2 separate regions of the Homo sapiens genome follow, and region 2 is linked to region 1. The links are contacts of gene promoters, found by promoter capture Hi-C in blood cells and fetal thymus (Javierre and others, 2016). All regions are on one chromosome and are shown on one strand. Each heading gives the region's core, a stretch centred on a gene start or on the middle of the fragment in contact. The rest is flanking DNA. Distances are from core to core; before and after follow the strand shown.

What was found. Contacts are between HindIII fragments. The CHiCAGO score rates a contact against its expected background, and 5 or more counts as called.
Region 2: a contact is called between the fragment with the promoter of TAT here and the fragment with the promoter of CHST4 in region 1, in 1 of 17 cell types (monocytes). The highest score is 6.9, in monocytes.

What each region holds. Positions count from the first base shown.
Region 1 is chr16:71,524,299-71,528,978 of GRCh38, reverse strand. It overlaps CHST4 (carbohydrate sulfotransferase 4), which reads right to left and starts at 2,553. Exons shown (of 2, transcript NM_001166395.2): 1 at 2,484-2,553. RefSeq lists an enhancer at 2,310-2,920. The HindIII fragment of the contact is 27,165 bases long and covers 1-4,680 here.
Region 2 is chr16:71,575,842-71,580,129 of GRCh38, reverse strand. It overlaps TAT (tyrosine aminotransferase), which reads left to right and starts at 3,038. Exons shown (of 12, transcript NM_000353.3): 1 at 3,038-3,121; 2 at 3,703-3,949; 3 at 4,104-4,208. The coding sequence starts at 3,715. The HindIII fragment of the contact is 5,727 bases long and covers 1-3,442 here.

The DNA of each region.
Region 1 (4,680 bases), core at 1,304-3,803:
CATTTCTGAGGAGTCAAGAGAACCTTAGGAACTTGAAAACGCCACCAAAGGGTGGTGAGAAGGGAGAATCTATGTTTGGCACAGGAACCACGAAGGTGCCAGATGGGTGACCTCAAGCAGCAGCTGATTAGAGTGGGCTGAATTATAGATGTCCCCCAAATCGGTACCATGTAGCCTCGTAGAGACAAAATGGGAAATTCTGAGGGGGAAAAAAACCAGATAGATACTAATTTAAGAAGTCTGGGTTCCAGCCACTGGATGCATTCCTAACTTACACTTCCCATGAGATTATGCCCCTTACAAGTAGAAATTAGATACAGCAGAAGATACCTTGAGCAAAGAGAGAGAGAATGGGGTTGGATTGGGGAAACTGGCATCCTCACAAGCAGCCTGAAGACCTGGAAAACCTCTGAAGCTAGGCACCTGGGTAAAGGGTGTCCATATAACAAACTCTTCCTAGACAGTGTCAGGAGGATTGGACCTGGGTCCCGCCAGGGCTGTGTCACTAGTGCCAAGGACAGTGCATGGCACATAGTAGGTGCTCAAGGAACATCTTTCAACAAATGACAAGTGAACATATATTTGTACAGTGTTTTTTTTTTTACTATATGAGACCCAGAAAGGAAGATTGAGCAAGATATTATAAACCAAAAATAAAATTCTAAGGCCCCCCAACCATCTGAAAGGACTTCCTCCTCAGCCAGGACTCTTTTTTTTTTTTTTTTTTTTGAAATGAAGTCTTGCTCTGTTGTCCAGGCTGGAGTGCAGTGGCACGATCTCAGCTCACTGCAACCTCGACTCCTCAGGTTCAAGCGCTTCTCCTGCCTCAGCCTCCCGAGTGACCTGGCTAATTTTTTGTATTTTTAGTACAGACATGGTTTTGCCATGTTGGCCAGGCAGGTCTCGAACTCCTGACCTCAAGTGACCTCAGTCTCCTAATAGTGCTGTGATTACACCCATGAGCCACTGTGCCCAGCCAGGGGTCTTTTTAAAATTTAACCTGAGAGACTGTTTCAGGCCATGACAAGAAGTGGGGATCTAACATGCCTCATCATACCTCTCCAGCATTAACACCAACACAGACCTTAAGTCTGATAAGAAACATTTTACAACCTATTCTCTCTGAAGCCTGCTATCTGAAGGCTTCCTCTCAGTTGCAGTGAGCCGAGATCGCACCACTGCACTCCAGCCTGGGCGACAGACCCGTACTTTTTTCTTTTCTTTTTTCTTTTTTGAGATGGAGTTTTGCTCTTGTTGCCCAGGCTAGAGTGCAATGGCAGGATCTCGGCTCACTGCAGCCTCCCGGTTTCAAGCGATTCTCCTGCCTCAGCCTCCTGAGTAGCTGGGATTACAGGTGCCTGCCACCATGCCCAGCTAATTTTTTTGGTATTTTTAGTACAGACAGGGTTTCGCCATGTTGGCCGGGCTGGTCTTGAACTCCTGGCCTCAGGTGATCCACCTGCCTCAGCTTCCCAAAGTGCTGGGATTACAGGCGCGAGCCATCGCGCCTGGCTAGATGTATTTCTTAAATGTATTTGATTGAAGTCTCATGTCTCCCTAAAGTGTATAAAACCAAGCTGCACCCCGACCACCTTAGACACATGTTCTCAGGACCTCCTGAGGGCTGTGTCACCGGCCATGGTCACTCATATTTGGCTCAGAATAAATCTCTTCAAATATGTCACAGAGTCTGACTCTTTTCATCGACAATATTACATTTATTTTACACATAGAAAAGTATTTCAATTCCAATTAGAAGTTTCATACTTGTCCAAGGCCATGCAAGATAGACGTATCTTCTACCATAGCTGATATGTTGGCACCATAACTTAATCATATTGCACATGTGCGTGGTGTTCCACATTTTTAAAGCCCTTTTAGCTGCAATTATGATACTGATCGGTTAGATATTTTAGACAGTGATGAGACATTTCTTCATTTTTCAGAATAAATAAACTAAACTTTAATTGACTGGCTCATCCGGTATAAATAGCCTTTTCTGGATCAGAACCCAGGTTTTGGGGATCCCAGGGCTGAGAATTTTCAATGATCACACTGTCCCTCTCCTGAGCTAGAGAAAACCTACAGCTCCTTGCACCTCCTGTCTTCCACTCCCCAGCAGAAAACAGAGGAGAAGCTGCAGGAAGTACAGAAATTTGAGCTCCAAAGCCAGGATCTGAACGAGTCAGTTGGCACCAGGGGACCATCTACAAAATATACATCAGAACAGCCTGATCTGCTCTCTGGGCTCTTTTGGACCCATTTAGGGATAGAGCTAGTGGGGCTTGGGGGCTGCTGGTAAGCAGCTTGTGTTTTATTTTACCCAGAAAATTCCCCAGGTGATCTGATTTATCCCCTCTGCGCAAACCGCCTTCGCCACTGTAATCTCTAGCTTAGCTGCCAGAGGTTATCTGATACTCTTGCTCCAGCAGCTCTGGGTAATGGCTCTGCATTGGAGTCGTACACAGAAATTCTCTTCTTACCTTGTGGCTTGGGCTTCCCTGCTGCTTTTGAGAGGCTCACTGCTAGCCGGGCCATGCGCTTTTCTCCTCTGACTCACCAACTCCCCTCTTGGCTTCCTCCTCCTACTTGCTTTTGCATAACCGTCCCTACTCAGAGCACATTTCACTGTCCCTCCCTTCTGCCAAAAACAAAAAAGGACCCACCTTGCAAGACGGGCTTGAGAAAGCACTCGCTCCCAGGAAGCTGTGAAAGTAACAGCTTTAACACTGCTGAGACTCAAGGGGTGGGGAGACTGCTTGAGGTGGGCTGGGAGAAGCAAATGAGGAAGCATTTTCCCCCAGACTGGAGGCATCCTGGCATGTTGACTACTGAAAGGCAACTGTGAAGGTCAACTCCCTATGGGCAGAGTGGGGAGGTGGGGAAAAAGAGAAAGAGAGAGAGAGAGACCCAGGGAGCTAGTAGATGAGGCTGATAGGGAAATTTCATGACACTTACAAGCCGAAAGGCTACAAAATCTCAAACCTGATTTTTAGACCTTGTTCTTATCTCCAAGGAGAAAATGTGAAAGTTATTTCTTGCATTACACCTGCCTGCTCACTCCACCCTGGGTCTAGGGAGGTAACATTTCTCAGCCTCTGTGTTGTATTCAATATCTTCACCCTTGCTACAAGAGGTAATAAATATTTTCTGGGAGGACATAGATGTACTGGCTTGGTGGTACAGGAGAAAAAAAAGTCCCCTTTAAGAAAAAAAGAAACAAATTATCATTAAAGATTACAACCTCTCCCTTGCTGTGTGCCCTTGGGCAAATCACTTACCTACTCCGTGCTACTTTACACGGTTGTCATGAGTCTGAAACAATGGATGCCCGTGAATAAACGTAAATTGTGGTGGAGAATGGAAGCCTCAGACTTTCAAGTCCAAGATCTTGCCGGGCAAGTCATACCACCTCTTTGAGCCCTAGAATATCATCGGTGTTAAATAAGGGTAACAATATCTATTTTACAGTATTGTTGTGAATGTTAGGATTAATGCGTATGAAGCTCCTAACACAATAATATGACAATATAAGAGTTAAAAAGTGGTTGAATAATAATACCTTCCCACCGCCACCCACCCCCGCAACTCAGCTGCCACTTCCTTTTCCAGACCTTGGAAGAGAGAGAGAGCAGGCAGGGAGTTGTGTGAGCTTTGGGATGATCTTTGCCGATTTCCATCAGCTAAGTCCGCTAAGCACAAATGACAAGAACCTGTGGTGCTTGCCTTGACTTGATTTCAATTGTGTGGCTCTTCCTCCCTTCCTGTTTCTCTCTGGCAGAGAGAAGAGAAATTTCTCTTCCTCCAGTGAAGGACTTTGGGCAGAGGTGTAACTGGAAGCACTAGAACTGGGCAGTCGGTAGTTTTGCTTTTATGCACAAAGAGATGATTCAGGTGCTGGCACGACACAGCGAGATGGCACAAGGCTTCATCATGCTACTCAGAATAGTATGTAATAAATGAACTGTTTATTTCTGTAATTTTCCCATTTAATATTTTCAAATCGTGGTTGATGATGAGTAGTTAAAACTGGGAAACAAAACCGTGGATAAAGAGGGGACTCCTGTAGTTTTATTCCAGCCCTTTCTAACATTCTTTTCGTGTTTTTCCAGCGCCTTCCCAAATATAGTGAGGTCACTCAAATACACCATAACCCCAAGTAATTCAGATCACCTGCCATCTTTCCCGTGCTAGGAATTCATGCTGGCAGAATGCCAAGCAGCTGAAGAAAGGCATCCTCTGGTCACTAGTATACGGTGGTGACCAGCATGTTCAGATACTGGACTTCCAAGGGTCTACCACATTCCACAGCACTGGGAAGAAATTTGAATGCTGGTGTCTGATATCCAGGCCTTCTTGTGGAAGTCCTGCAGCCCACGTCTCTAAGGCAGCACTGTCCAATAACAGTCTCTGTGATGATGGAAATGTTCCATATCTGCACTATACAGTAGCCACTGTCCACCTGAAACGTGCTAGTGCAACCATATTGGATCGTGCAGTCAAGTAAGAGATCTAATCTTTTTCTTTTTGAGTCTCCAAAATCTGATAACAGATATAGACCTCTGTAGAAAAATGTACAATTGCTCATATACAAACACAAAATCATGTGCAATGCCAAGGAATCCCAAGTTTAAAATCCGTACAAAAGGCTGTGTGTACTTGAAGTGATTTAGACAATTG
Region 2 (4,288 bases), core at 1,789-4,288, 51 kb before region 1:
AGTCTGAACTCCAAGAGGTTGTTCAAATTAAACATATTTGCATTGCTTTCGTCTTTGTATAGTCCGTAATTGAAACTATCCCTCAAATAACAGGATATGCATAAAAGTTCTCTATCAATCATGAATGTACAAGGACATTCGATATGCTTTATTTTTTATTTTATTTATTTATTTATTGAGACAGAGTCTGGCTCTGTCGCCCAGGCTGGAGTGCAGTGGCGCGACCTCAGTTCACTGCAAGCTCCACCTCCCGGATTCATGCCATTCTCCTCCCTCAGCCTCCCGAGTAGCTGGGACTACAGGCACCCGCCACCAGGCTGGGCTAACTTTTGTATTTTTAGCGGAGATGGGGTTTCACGGTGTTAGCCAGGATGGTCTCCATCTCCTGACCTCGTGATCCGCCTGCCTCAGCAACCCCAAAGTGCTGGGATTATAGGCGTGAGCCACCACACCAGGCTATTTATTTTTATTTTTTATTTTTTGAGACGGAGTCTCACTCTGTCGCCCAGACTGGAGTGCAGTGGCACGATCTCGGCTCACCACAACCTCCACCTCCTGGGTTCAAGCGATTCTCCTGCCTCAGCCTCCTGAGTTGCTGGGATTACAGGTGTGCACCACTGTGCCTGGCTAATTGTTGTATTTTTAGTAGAGATGGGGTTTTGCCATGTTGGCCAGGTTGGTCTTGAACTCCTGATCTCAGATGATCTGCCTGCCTTGGCCTCCAAAGTGCTGGGGTTACAGGCATGAGCTGCCACGCCCAGCCCACACATTATTAAGATTTTAAAAAAAGCAAGCTACAGAACAGCCCTGTCCAATAGACAGAATGCAAGCCACATAGTGACTTCAAATTTCCTAATAGAAATATTTTAAGATATAAAAACAAATAGGTGAAATTAATTTTAAGAATGTATTTTATTTTACTCAGCACACCATGTATTTTATTATCATATATTTTATTATATATTTTATTATATATATACGGTGTACTGAGTAAAATAAAATACATTTTATATATATATATACATATATATATATATATATATATTTTTTTTTTTTTTTTTTTCTGAGGCAAGGTCTCATTCTGTCACCCAGGCTGGAGTGCAATGGCATGATCACAGCTCTCTGCAGCCTTGACCTCCTGGGTTCAGGTGATCTTCCTACCTCAGCCTCCCAAGTAGCTGGGACTATAGGCTCATGCCACCATGCCTGGCTAGTTTTTGTATCTTTTTGTATAGACGGGGTTTCACTATGTTGCCCAAGCTGGTCTTGAATTCCTTAGCTCAAGTGATCCATCCACCTTGGCCTCCCGAAAGGCTGGGATTACCAAAGGTGTGAGCCACCATGCCCAGCCCCAAAATATTCTTTAAACATGTAATCATACAAAATTATATGAGATATTAACATTCTTTTTTTATACTAAGTCTTCAAAACCTGATGTGTATTTTACAACACATCTTAATTCAGACCAGTCACATTTCAAGTATTCAACGGCCACTTATGACTAGTAGCTACAATATTAGACAGTGCAACTATAGACCACGTTTACTCTCCATTTTTTTAGCAACTCCCAAACCAGCTTTATACGTATTGTAATAAACATAGAAAACATTTGGAAGGGTACACAAGAAATGACTAAAAATGATTTTTTTATATAAAATGAGAATGCAGGGAGGGAAGGTGATCAGGGTTTAATTCACGTACATCTCTATTTGAATTTATTATATAAGGATATATCATATTTACTAAAAATGTAAAAGAGAAATGCTTATTCTTTGCAACACAGTCCTTGTATAGAAATCTGTCTTAAGGAAATAATCAAATATGTAAACTAACATTTATGACAAGGATGCCCTTGGCCCAAGACGTGAATAATTTTTTCTAGTGTATCCATGCTATAGACGTTACCTGCCATTACTGTATAAGAAAAAACATAGTGTACCTAGGGCTCAGTACTACCCATGGTTTCAGACATCCATAATTTCAGGCATCCACTGGAGGTCTTGGAGTGTGCTCCCTGTGGATAAGGGGGGACTACTGTATTCAACCCCACTGGAGGCTTGACTCCCTGAAAAGTGAATGGAGAAGAACAAACTGATGTGAAAAATCTTTGTCTTCCAACAAATAAACAGACAGGATCTGAGCCCTGGGGAGATCACTGAGGCTTCTCTTAACCCTTCAGTGGGTGGTATTTTCCATCTGCTCACAGGAATGTTGAGATTTTGGCTGTGGACCTTGTGTTTTGCTTAGCAAAGTTGTTTTGTGTGGATCGCACCTGACATTTTAAATTCTTCCAACAACCATAGGAGGTAAATGAAGAATTCATGCACAGTGCAAGGATAAAACTGCACAGGTTTCAGCTGCCTTGGACACCCTGTGCTTTTCAGCTATTTGTTGAATGGAACTTAAGTGCCCAATTTGTTCTGATTGGAGCAAAACTTTGTGGACTGACAAGGATGGGCGTCCAAGATGTAGGAAGTTAAAAAAAAAATGTTGCCAAACAAGGTGTAGAGCACGATCCTATCTGTGTTTTGAAATCTATGAAATTATGTATCTATGCACCTATATGTAATGTATCTATCTCTGAATGGAGGGAAAGAGCCTGACCATTACCACCCTCTACCCCTGGGAGTGAGAATGAAGTGTACAGGGAGCAGGTGCAAGGAAGAATGCTCACTTCTTACTTTATATATTTCTGTACTGTTAAAATTTTAACAGGCTGTTTTGTAAAAAAAATTTAATAAAAGCTATCAACTGTAACCAGAAGTACTTTCTGACAGTAGATGTTCTCAAACCATCTCACCAAGTGCCCAGAAAGAGTTAACACAGGAGAATTCCAGATGTTTGAAGTGAGGACAAATTCCTGCTTTGAGGGTGGGAGGTGGGCTTAGGGATGAGAGGCAATGACGGGGGAGAGGAGGAAAGAAGCTGAGGGGAGAGCTGGCTGCTGAGTTGTCATTCCAACCAATGGCATGAAAGTTTCAAGCCCAACGCCCATTTGTGGAGACTATTTCAGGAGTTAGGATTTGCATCTGAGTTCATTGCCCCTGTAACCTGTCAAAGAAGAGCTAAGGGAGCTTTCGGGGTTGGCTTCTTGGAGGCTGCTTTCTCCTTTACTTGGAAGGTAAAAATCTCAAGCCCAAGCTGATCAGGCAGTGGTGACTGATTGAGCTGTTAATTTTTTTCTTTTTGGTGTATTGATTTCTTTTTCCAGCTAGGGCTGTAACATGCTTATGGGATAAGGTTTTACTTTTACTAACAATGATATTTACATGGAACTTCTAACAAGATGGAGTGGTTCTTCCTGGTCCTCTGCAGATGACAAGAAGCATTAGGTAGATTTTCTTGGATAGGCTCGCATGGAAAGGAAGGAGAACCTATGCTTTGACTGATGAACAATTTTCATCTTATTCCTTCTTGGTTTCACATAGAGCATGGTTAAGCTTTGACAGGAATTGCAGATGCGTGTAGCAAATCCTACTTAAGTAGAATGGGTTCTTGCTTTATTTTCCATCTCAGTAAAAACTCTTAAAACTCCCCCATTCATAGTAAAGCTACTTTACAACAGAAAGTAGAAAAAAAAATAAAGAGAGAGTTTGGAAAGACACTTTTAGTGAAGTCACCCAATGTTTAGGTCCAAATGTAGCTCCTCTGTCCCCCAGCGCTATGTTATCAACATCACAGGGAACTTCTTTCCCCTCGCAGGCTTCGCTAGTGATGGACCCATACATGATTCAGATGAGCAGCAAAGGCAACCTCCCCTCAATTCTGGACGTGCATGTCAACGTTGGTGGGAGAAGCTCTGTGCCGGGAAAAATGAAAGGCAGAAAGGCCAGGTGGTCTGTGAGGCCCTCAGACATGGCCAAGAAAACTTTCAACCCCATCCGAGCCATTGTGGACAACATGAAGGTGAAACCAAATCCAAACAAAACCATGATTTCCCTGTCCATTGGTGAGTTGGGGACACTACTGAGGGGCTGTCATTGTCCTCCTCTACTCTCATGTTCACAGGCTGGTTGGAGAAGATGGCAGTTGGGGGTGAGTCTGAGTACTGAACATGGGAGAATAACCTCTTGGCTCCTTTTGTGTTTTCCTCCCATAAAAAGGGGACCCTACTGTGTTTGGAAACCTGCCTACAGACCCTGAAGTTACCCAGGCAATGAAAGATGCCCTGGACTCGGGCAAATATAATGGCTATGCCCCATCCATCGGTAAGCTCCTCCTGAGACTCCATACCTGGTGACTGCCAAATCTTTAGTGCTCTTATAACAGGACTAAATGTCTAGCAATC